Regions from separate parts of the Homo sapiens genome. Here region 1 is linked to region 2. The links are contacts of gene promoters, found by promoter capture Hi-C in human tissues and cell types (Jung and others, 2019). All regions are on one chromosome and are shown on one strand. Each heading gives the region's core, a stretch centred on a gene start or on the middle of the fragment in contact. The rest is flanking DNA. Distances are from core to core; before and after follow the strand shown. Region 1 overlaps GREB1L (GREB1 like retinoic acid receptor coactivator). Region 2 holds the start of ESCO1 (establishment of sister chromatid cohesion N-acetyltransferase 1).

Region 1 (5,843 bases), core at 1,657-4,156, 240 kb after region 2:
CCATATGGTCAACAAGGTCAAACTGCATTACTGCCAATGAAACTATATTACTCCACAAGGACCCTAATGATTAAAAAAAAAAAAAAAGTCAGTAATCTAATTCCAATAGCTTCAGAGTCTAAAATTGCTAATTTTTGGCCACGTGCTGCACACTTCACCTGTTAGTAATGACATTTTTGTATTTTCTTCTAATTACACTCAAAGCTAAGACCTTTGGCCCTGGGCCACAGACCCCTATTCAGGCTGCACACATTCTCTTAAACGACCTGATCCTTTGTTGTCACTCTTACTCTTTCATCTATTATTTACATCCATAGAGAAGGAAGATACTCAACCATTTGTATAGCTTAAAGCTTCTAATCATCTTAATTTCTTTGCCTTTCAACCTATGGTCTTTTTAATAGACAAATGCCAAGAAGTTTGACAAAATCATTTTTTTTTTTTGCAATCATATTGCCCCCTCTTCTCCTTTCTTACTCCCTGGCCAACCTCCTTCCTGTTCCTTGTCTTTCACAGGAGGGACTTTGTATTAGCCAGGATTTATAAATTTTGACCTTCACCAACAAAATAAATTTCTAAATACAATACAAATCTCCAACTTGTTCTGACAGATCAATAACAATTATATTTCTTTTTTTGACCAAAGAGCCCCTTAAGTTGAAGGTTACTGAAAATAACTTAAAATCTGTCCCCAGCCTCCCAAAAGCCTGAGCACTGAATTTTCAGAATTCCTCTACAAAAGTGCCAAAAAGCATTTAGTAAACAATAAGAATATTAGTTATGTGGCCAAAACTTTTCATTTTAATGTCTATGCTTGCTCACTTGTTTACAAAAAGAAAATTTAGAAAAAAAGAGGAAGGAAAGAAAAAAAGAAAAAACAAAAATTTTAAGGTTAGATTTCTAATTTAATCTTTAAAACATTTAAAAGACTACTAATTCTCCAAACAGCAAAATCCTCACATAATATATTCTGTATCATTATGATTATTTCCCAATACTTTATCAAGATTAAAAAATATATATTCAAACACATTTTGCAAATCCAAAGCATGGAATTGTTTACCATGATGCAGATGTCTCCCTCAGATCACGAAAGCCACCAAAAGATTCTGATTTCCAAGATGTTTATAAAATGACATCTGATCCATCTTTGCTCTCTTCCTCTATTGCTCAGCTTACTCTTGATTTCTAACAGTGTTTCCTTGTTGTCTGTCCCCTCTGCAGACCCTGAAACCCCTTGATTTTCTTATTTTCACCATTTGCTTCAACCAGCAGTTCACTGGAGACCCATCCATCTTGTAATGCCTAAAGTGACAGATGCTCTCAGAAACGACCACACTGCTGAGTGAACAAAAGATAACATCACCTCCAGGAACTCCAGAGAGAAATACAACTGCAAGCTTAAGACAGGGGCTGACTTGACAGACATTGGACCATAAACCTCTTCTAAGCAAAAAAGAAAACAATTGCCACACACACAAAAAAAATCTGACACAATCAAAGGCAGAAAAGAGTGATTATTTGTGGATTGCCTTTTCACTCTGTAACTCACTTTTCCCCACCCAATGCTTTTATATCGGGGCAATTCACTCACCAATAGGCAGGAGGAGTTCTTGTGTGTGTGGGGGGGGGGGGGCGGGGGGGAGGCGGAGTGGGGGCAGGGGGAGCCTTTCTCAAGTATCTTCTTTTATTCATCAATATTCAAAGTGAAATTCATTCACAAGTGTTTCAGGAAATCTAAGTCTACCATACAGCATTCTTAAGCCTGACTCTTAATATCTGGACTCAGAAATGCTGACTCAATTCTACTGCGGTGAAAGGCACATGCATGCTTTGCAAATTAAAAACACATTAGAAATTAAAAAGCAACCTGTGACAATGTCAACAATATGTGCAGCACATTTGAAAAAGCCAACCATTCATCAGACAACCTCCAACTTGGGTTAAAAAGACATTTTACAAGAGGATTCTGGGAAGGGCTGCACAGCTCTTTTCTAACAAAGGAAAGGTCATATTAACATCTCCCAGCAACAAACTAATGACAGGGAAGCTGTAGATGCAGGAGACTCTGCTTGATGCCATCTAGGTTCTAGGACTTTCGTTGTGACTGTTGTTTAAAACATCTTATTTAAAACTATCAGACAGAATAGGAAGTAAATATAACTCTAACATTCAGACAAATACAGTGAAGGGGAAATTTCGAAGAACATAAAAACAAAAACTAACCTGGAGGTCAATTAAGAACATCATGTGGTCAATGCCAATTATGGAGATTAACAACCCGTTTTTAGAATAGATATCGAGCAACACAGGAAAACCTCTGTTGGAGCTAAATACATTATTCTTCTCAAAAAGGGCAAATGATACAAATATTTATGTTACATCTAAAGAAAAGAGCCAAAATGCTTAAGAAAATTTCCATTGACAATATTTCTAAGAAGAAATCTAAATACTTATAATGGCATTTCTTTAATAAAAATATTTTTTTCTCTAAAATGTTTGCACACAAAGTCTTTAAGTTATGCTACAATCATTTTTCTTTGGGGTTACTAATGACTCCTCTCCTCCCCACTTTCCAAAAAAAACACAAATTTTAAAATATATTTTGTCTCCTGTGATTGAATTACTTGTGGGGAGGAGGTTAAAAAAATTTCAACTTATATAAATCAACATATCAGTTACTTAAACATTTTTATGTCTCTCTTATTTCCTCAAACACTTCAATGTATCTTTCATAAATAACAGTATAATATTTCATAATCTCAGAATTTTCTGGGTTTTTTTTAAGGCTGGCAAAGTAGAATACATACAAAATAATAAAATGAGTATGTAAAATCATATCACAATAGAAAAAAGATTAAATAATTATAGAACACTTATATAAAATACTTGTTCTAATATGGACTGGATCTTTAACTAGGAGACTTTATAAACAAAGCCTTATACACACTGGCCCTAAGTAATCTCCCACAATCTATTAATCCAAAACTACCACATCATTCAACACTTTCAAACTCTGGCATTAATAACAAGAAAGAGAAGTGACCTTGAAATGACAGCTCCACTGCAGAAGGCTCAAAAAAAGATCCAATTAAATGATCTACTTTAAAACACAATAGAATCAATATGCATGCTAGAAAAGTACATCCCTGTGGAAAGTTCTTATTGTCTGACTGATCAAAAACAAAACTTTTTTTTTTTTAAGGGCCCCTTCCAGATCACAGTCTGTACCAGAAATCCACACAGGAAAAAAAAATCCATCAAAATGAAACCCTAAAAGGGTTTACTCTTCACCATTCTATTTGCACTTCAAAACCCTGTCAGTCCTTCAGTTAAACCCCAGGGCTGTACCATTTCAATAATAAGAGAGGTGGCCAGTGGTGATTTATCTCCCATTTGGCCTCTGGACAGAGCTGTAATGTCTAGGAAGCTTCCCTTCCCTGACTGGATCCCTCCCCCAAGTCTCCACCTTAATTTGTGCAGCCTTGGGTCTGCAATACCTTAGAAACAATTCATGTGCCCCTTCCAATCAGATGCAGGAACACTCTGTACTCAAGATTTGGGTACATTTTCTCAGCAATAATTTCACAAAATGGCATGCTGCTGAGTACTCAGAGCATGGCAAATACCAGCTTAAATTTCAGATTCTCTTTGTTATAAGTTAGAGCAGAAAAGAAACTTCCTTAACTGTAGCCTCTCTCTTCTCACATACGTTATCGGAACTTCACAAGCTTTTCCCAGTGTATACTTTGATATCCTTTATGTTTTGGACCACATTAGCCAGTATCCTTCAGTGTGGTACTCATCTAAATTTAAATCTTTGCATTGTAAAATACCTTAACAAATCCAAAAAAGTGGAGATTTCATAGGTCACAGACTCCTGGGTCAAAAAGACCTAAAAATAGATAACAGACCACCACGACTTAACTGATTTATTCTACCCTTGTTATCCAATATGTACTGTAACTGTCATCACATACACTCACCAATTTTCCAACAATGTCAACAGTTATTTAAATGGAAATATAGATCCCAGAAGTCACCAAATGTGAAACACAGTGAAATTATTCCTTAAAAATGGAGGATATTTTATCATTAGGCATGACTTACCTATTTCATAATTATGTTCATTTGCTTTCTAAAATGGAAAGAGAATAAAAAGCATGTATAACCTTTTCTCTACGTATTCAATTTTTTGTTTTATTTAAATGAGAGGAGTTTTTCTAATTGAGTCTGATAAATTCTATCTCAATGTCACATTAACACTTTGCACCAAATGATTCAACTATAGTGATCTAATTTTACCAGTTGAAAATGTTCAAGCTATTTCACTAAATTCATAAGTTTAGAGACTCCATAGGCAAAGATATATGTATTTCATTTAATCCTAATATCAGTCACCGGGTGCAGTGGCTCGTGCCTGTAATCCCAGCACTTTGGGAGGCCGAGGCGAGTGGATCACCTAAGGTGAGGAGTTTGAGACCAGGCTGGCCAACATGGCGAAACGCCATCTCTACTAAAAATACAAAAAAAAAAAATTAGCTAGGTGTGGTGGCAAGCACCTGTACTCCCAGCTACTTAGGAGGCTGAGGCAGGAGAATTGCTTGAACCCGGGAGGCGGAGGTTGCAGGGAGCCGAGATCGTGTCACTGCACTCCAGCCTGGATGACAGAGCGAGACTTCGTCTCAAAGAAATAATAATAATAAAACAAAAACAAAAACCCTTTGTTTTAAGTTAAGAAAGCTTAAAAATAAGAAAAATAAATATATGACTGATAGTTTAAAATACAAGAAATATAACTGTCAACTGAAAGAATTATTCACAATTTTGGAAGTATTTATCAATAAAAGTTATATTTCTTCCATTAAAAAATACACCACAAACATCCTTATACCACATTAGCAAATGTTTTTCATTTTCAGAGCCCTAAATACCACAAATTCCAGAAAAAACAACCCTCCTACCAAATTACTTTATTGCATGCAACCAGATCAGTGACTCTCAGATGACACATTTGAGATGATATATTTGAGATGACACAAATATCTAAACTGGCATTAGTAACAATATTCAAGAAAACAAATTTCTTAACCTACTTCATGAAAACAACCATAACAAAAAGAAGCTTTCCTCAACAGTCAACAAGAGTAATTGATGTACCACAGAGGAAATATCCAATCTTCATTAAGTATTTATTCAGTGCAATAGACTGTTAAGTGCTATTTAGACCTCAAAGAAGAAGCAGTTCCTGTCTGGTAGGAATCAAGTCTTAGGAGAACTGAATGGAGATGAGACGCAGTTCCTCAAGTCGTGACACTATACTTCAAAATGACAATGCTAAAAACTGGAAATGTGCTATAAAATGTATATTATCACTTTGAAGTCTAATACCAAAGAAAGTGATACCTAAGGGAATACTAACTTGAATAAGACTTGACTGAGTAGTTCTTGATTTTATTTATTTATTTTTTTTTGAGATGGAGTCTCATCCTGTCACCCAGCCTGGAGTGCAATGGCACAATCTCGGCTCACTGCAACCTCCACCTCCTGGGTTCAAATGATTCTCCTGCCTCAGCCTCCCAAGTAGCTGGGATTACAGGCGCCTGCCACCACGCCCAGCTAATTTTTGTATTTTTAGTAGAAACGGGATTTCACCATGTTGGCCAGGCTGGTCTCGAACTCCTGACCTCATAATCCGCCTTGGCCTCCCAAAGTGCTGGGATTACAGGCGTGAGCCATTGTGCCCAGCCCCTGATTTCTTATTAATGTAGCATGAAAATATTTGGATACTCAAGTTGTGCAGTTCCCAAATCTGCCCGAGTAACCATGGCCAAGACACCTAT
Region 2 (5,947 bases), core at 555-3,054:
GGCTTCAAAGAAGGAGGGCAGGAAGGGGAAAACCCATTTATGATCACCTCTTCCCATTCTGAAATGCAGAAGTACCGAACTAGCCTCACAGTTCCGCAAATAAGCAAAGGGTAGCACAGAACATATGTTCAAAAGCAGTCTAGTAGCCGGAGCAGTGGCTTAGGCCTGTAGTCCCAGCGCTTTGGGAAGCCAAGGAGAGAAGAGAGGATCACTTGAGGCCAGGAGTTCGAGATCAGCCTGGGCTGGTCTCAGTGAGACCTTATCCCTACAAAATATAAAAAAATTAGCCTGGCGGCCGGGCGCGGTGGCTTACGCCTGTAATCCCAGCACTTTGGGAGGCCGAGGCAGGTGGGATCACAAGGTCAGAAGTTCGAGACCAGCCTGGCCAAGATGGTGAAACCCCGTCTCTACTAAAAATAAAAAATTAGCCGGGCATGGTGGCAGGCACCTGTAGTCCCAGCTACTCAGGAGGCTGAGGCAGGAGAATTCCTTGAACCTGGGAGGCGGAGGTTGCAGTGAGCCGAGATCGTGCCATTGCACTCTAGCCTGGGTGACAAGAGTGAGACTCCATCTCAAAAAAAAAAAAAAAAATTAGCCTGGCATGGTGTCGTGGGCTTCATACATGCAGTTCTCAGGGAGGCTGAGGCAGGTGGGATCGCTTGAGCCCAAGTCGAGGCTGCAGTGAGCCGTTACTGTGCCACTGCACACCAGCCAGGGCTACACAGCAAGATCCTTCCTGTCACAAAAGAAAGAAGTGTGGGAACCATGAATCCTAGTGATAGAATCTTGGATTCTATCTCTAGAGGCGTCCAAGAGCGAGCCAAAGCTTTGTCTGAACACTCAGTCTGACTAAGTCTAGCAGAATATTTTACAATTTCTGATGATTCTTGCACTCTGATACACAGGAAGAAAGTGTGCAAGGAGAGGGCGAAGCCCTGCATTTTTTGGAGGTGCTGGAGGGCAGTGTAGGGACTGCACCCTCCTTTTTTTTTTATTTGAGACAGGGTCTCACTCGTCCAGACTAGAGTGCAGTGGCCCAGTCTCAGCTCACCACAACCTCCGCCTCCCAGGCTCAAGGGATTCTCCCGCCTCAGCCTCTCGAGTAGCTGGGATTACAGTCGCACGCCACTACCACCCGGCTAATTTTTGTATTTCTAGTAGAGACGGGGTTTCACCATGTTGGCCATGTTGGCCAGGCTGGTCTCGAACTCCTAACCTCAAATGATCCACCCGCCTCTGCTTCCCAAAGTGCTGGGATTACAGGCGTGAACCACCGCGCCCGGCCCCACCCTCCTTCTTTACATTGGCTCATATGGAAGACCAAAGGCACTTGGATTATACATCGCAGACAGAAGCAGCCAAAACCTACATGGCAACCAGTTGCGACAAATTTCCAAGGTAAACCACAACCGCTGGGGGCCTGGGTGGTTTTCAGCTCAAAGCGATGACCCCAGGAACGACAAGCGGCCGCCGCTAGGGGGCGCCGCCACTTCCCTGCCAGGCGACCACCCGCGGAGGCGCGCGCGCTAGGCCTCCCACCGCGCCTGCGCTGAGGATGGACACTAGCTCGCCTTTCCTCGACGCCCAGCCGTCCGGGCCGGGGTGAAAAACTGCGTGACACGCAGTGAGCGTGGCGGCCATCTTCGTCTTCTGGGCACGTCAGCTGAGCCGGTTAGGGCTGAAGAGGAGCGTTGCGCAAGCGCACCCAAGACGGTCACAGGTAACTCCCATCTGACGAGCGAGGCGTCGCCGTCGTCGCCGGAAGTTTGGTGTTTGCGCCGCGGGGGAGGCGGCGGCCGCAGCAGAAGCAGCTGAGTGTCTCCTGATACCCGGATGTGAGGCGATCCGCTGGCGCTAGTCTGACCCTCCGCCAGGCAAAAGGAAGGTACGCGAGCGTCCCTGACGGTCCCCGCCGCCTGTGTCTTCACCTCTCTTTTGCCAGCCCCTTCAGGGAGCGGACAGTTCTCCCTCTTCCTGTTCCACCCTCGGTGGCGTGTTGCCTCGCACGCCCCTTCCTACTGCTCCGGTCCCAGCTCTTCGCGCCCCTGGGAGGGAGGTGGGAGGCTCTAGGCTCCAAGACGCCGTCGCTTGAGGTAGGCAGCTAACGTGCTCGCGTGTCCGCGCACCACCTGCCGCTGTTTGCTGGGCGGTCGAAGTTCATAAGGGGTCGTGACCGCCGACGGGGCAGGGCCGGAGTTCCCAGCACTGCCGCGAGGGCTCCGGGAGCCCCGAGGTGGCGCGCAGCCATTGCTAGCACCGGGGCAGCGCCAGTGCTGGTCCCGCAGGTAGCTCCGGGCCCCGTCTCCGCCCCCTGCGTTTTCTCTTCCCGGCGCTTCACCGGAGCCAGTCCCTCGCCGCCTCCTGGCGCAACCCGCTGACCCGGCCTGAGCCTGGAGGCCTCTGCAGTTTGCGGGGCGCGATGTGGGGTCTTGGTTTTACAGCCTTCAGTTTGGGAGGGGAGCGGGCCCAAGGTCATAGAGTAACTCATGCTGCAAATGGGGGTCTCGGCACAGGTAGGGCGGCTCTGGAGTAGAAATGAGTGCATTGAGGGCCGCAGTGAAGTTTATAGCGATGGAGAGAGGCGAACCAAAGAGAATTGGGTCCTCGATTTTTATCACGGGTTAAGATTATTTTACTATGGGGGTTTATTTTGCACAGGCAGAATGGGATAGCAAGTCCAACAATTCGAAGACTACCTCCTCTCCCTCCGCCTCTCAATGATGCGTCCGAAAATCCGGCGTGTGCTTTATTTTCCGGGGCGATGGGGACGCAGCGGGGACCAGGGGAGGGAGGAAGAGGAGGAGGAAGGAGCTCAAGCTTTGCGATTTGAGAAGTACTATGAACCATGTTTTCTGTAGTCTTAGCTGCAATGAGATTCCTTTAAACAGGAATCGCAGCACACAGTATCTAGATAGTATTACAAAACGATATCTCAATAAATAAGCTTCGCAGGAAACAAAAGCGCTACTTGGTGGCATAAGGTGTGGTTAGTCCCCCCACCAGCATTGGCTTTTTTAAAAAAGTGGATAAAACATAGATTTCAGTTGAAAACATCCAGGTTGCAGTGAACTATGCTATATTCACTTTGTCTTCTGGTCAAGTACTTAGTTTCTGCTTTACACAGGACACCAACACGAATAAAGTTTTAAGTTATTATTTTATTTTGAGACGGGGTCTCGCTCTGTCGCCCAGACTGGATTGCAGTGGTGTAATCACTGTTCACTGCAGCCTTGACCTCCCTCCCCGGCCCCAAGCAATCCTCCCACCTCCGCCTCCCTGAGTGGCTGAGACTACAGGCGTCCGCTACCATGTTAGGCTAAGTTTTCTATTTGTTGTTGAGACGGCGTTTCGCCATGTTGCCCAGGCTGGTCTCGAACTCCTGGGATCAAGTGATCACCTGGGCCTCCAAAAGTGCTGGGATTACAGGCCTGAGCCACTGTGCCTGGTGAATTTTTTTTTTTTTTTGAAAAGCAAAAAATCTAATCAATGGAATTAGACATGGGAGTAGGATGAGAAGTGCTTTAAAACGTGCTTAATTTGGAAGTCGCAAATTCAGGCCTAGAGCATGTGAGGAAATGAGGAAACTAGGACTGTAATAGAGCCACTTTTTCCCTTTTAGGCAGAATGCAGAGTATCACTGTTGGGTCAGATATGTGACTTTGGAAGCACAATTCCAAAATTTGTCCTGGCTTACGAGCTAGAACTCCTTTATCATTGCTAACTGAGGAAAATATGCTATTGTCTCACCTTTCTCAATCAATATTATAATCCTGTAGTGAACAAGTAATTGTTTGTTTTTTTTTTTTGAGATGGAGTCTCACTCTGTCGTCCGGGCTGGAGGGCAGTGGCGAGATCTCGGCTCACTGCAATCTCCGCCTCCTGGGTTCAAGTGATTCTCCTGCCTCGGCCTCCCGAGTAGCTGGGATTACAGACAAGTGCCACCATGCCCGGCTAATTTTTTTGTATTTTTAGTAGAGATAGGGTTTCACCGTGTTGGCCAGGCTGGTCTTGAACTCCTGACCTCAGGTGATCCGCCTGCCTCGGCCTCCCAAAGTGCTGGGATTACAGGCGTGAGCCACCATGCCCGGCCAAGTAATTTTTTTAATGTCCGTCCCATACAAGGTGCTGGCATTTAAATTGATAAATTATGCTTCACAGAATAACTAAAAAAGTACCCTAATTAATGAATGCCATTAACTTCTTTTGCCAGATAGTCCTTTTTAGCTTGGTAATTTATTATGCAGAGCTGATTGTATTTATTCTGTTAATGAACGTGACCAGCGCTGCACAGTTCGAATAATGGATTTTTTTGTAATAGTTAAATATTTTTTCATGACTTTTATTGGCAGATTTTTGTACCACATAGAGTTCTTGGAATACCTTCTATTGAAGGTGATTAAAATTTAGGTACTAGAAACCAACTCCAGTAAAATTGTTACTGTAGATAATTAAGGACTATATTACCCCTTTTGTAACCCTGACTTTCATATTTTTCTGTGGATCATTCAATGAAAATCCTTTGGTTCTGTTTTTCCTGTATAAGTTCTGTATTATAGCTGTATTATAATACTGTAGTTACTTTTGGCAAATAAGAGCATTCTGTTAACCCAGCCATCATGTCTTGTCTTTTCCTGAGGGGAAGGGGCATATACATCTTATGCTTGATTGCATTACAATGCTTAAAGGAAGATTTATATCCTCTGCTCTGTTCAGCTTCCTTTAGACATTTATGGCAGCACGTGTAAGATTCACACAAAAACTCAGAGGGTAAATTAAAAGGTGGTATTAAGTATTACTTTAATGTAGTGGTTCTCAAACTTTTTGGTCTTAGGATCCCCTTACACTCTTAAAAATTATGTAGGACTCCAAGTAGCTTTTGTTTATATAGGTTTATATCTATTGATAGTTACTGTATTAGGAATTAATTTCATATATATTAATTCATTTGAAATAATTAAACTACAGCTTAATATAAATAACATTTTAATTTTAATTAAATTTTTTTTTTTTTTTAGTAACAGTGGCTCACTGTGTTGCCCAGGCTGGCCTTGAGCTCTTGGGCTGAAGTGATCCTCTTGCCTCAGCCTCCCAAATAGGTGGGACTACAGGTGTGCATACCCAGCTTAATATATTTAATAAATAACATTTTAATGAAAAACTATATTCCAAAATAAGTTAGTGAAGGAATGGTGATGGTATTACATTTTTGTAAATCTCCTTAATGTTTGGCCTTGATAGAAGACAGCTGGATTTTCCTATCAATCTGTTGCTATATATGTTTCTGGTTGAAGTTTATGACCAGTATGTTGGGTGGGGTATTTTAGCTTTTTCAGATAGTTGTAATACTCTGATTCTGCAACAAAACTTAACAAGTGGTAATTTCTTAAAGGTTAGTTGTGATGTAGAATCTGAAACCATGTCTACATGTGTTTTGCATTCTGTTGCATTAGAATTCATTGGTCTGTTTTGTACTTTTAATCTTTTGCTCTCGTATGATTTTGATCTCAGGAATCCTGAGAGTCCCCATATCACATTTTGAGCACTACTGCTTTAAGGTAAATAATTGAATGTTTAGAATTAATGTAGTTGTTGAAACTGAAGGGGATAATGATAATATGGAAATTGAGTTGGCAAGTAGTTAAGCGAAGCCAGGAGTAACTAAGTAAATTTTTTTTTATTTTTTTGAGACGGAGTCTTGCTCTGTTGCCCAGGCTGTGCTATCTCGGCTCACTGCAACCTCTGCCTCCAGGCTTCAAGCGATTCTCCTGCCTCAGCCTCCCGAGTAGCTGGGATTACAGGCACCTGCCATCATGCCTAGCTAGTTTTTTTTATATTTTTGTGGAGACGGGGTTTTACCATGTTGGCCAGGCTAGTCTTGAACTCCTGACCTCAGGTGATCCCCCTACCTCGGCCTCCCAAAGTGCTGGGATTACAGGCGTGAGACACC

Evidence for each region. Contacts are between HindIII fragments. The study calls those that stand out against the background at their distance.
Region 1: a contact is called between a fragment that was not itself captured here and the fragment with the promoter of ESCO1 in region 2, in 2 of the 25 tissues and cell types used here (aorta and mesenchymal stem cells).

What each region holds. Positions count from the first base shown.
Region 1 is chr18:21,359,081-21,364,923 of GRCh38, reverse strand. The region is part of intron 1 of GREB1L (GREB1 like retinoic acid receptor coactivator); the gene reads right to left. Among named protein-coding and RNA genes, the nearest start is that of GREB1L-AS1, 89 kb to the left of the region's middle. The HindIII fragment of the contact is 4,057 bases long and covers 878-4,934 here.
Region 2 is chr18:21,596,561-21,602,507 of GRCh38, reverse strand. It overlaps ESCO1 (establishment of sister chromatid cohesion N-acetyltransferase 1), which reads left to right and starts at 1,804. Exons shown (of 12, transcript NM_052911.3): 1 at 1,804-1,885. RefSeq lists enhancers at 175-254, 1,579-2,098, 3,166-3,460. The HindIII fragment of the contact is 11,871 bases long and covers 1-5,947 here.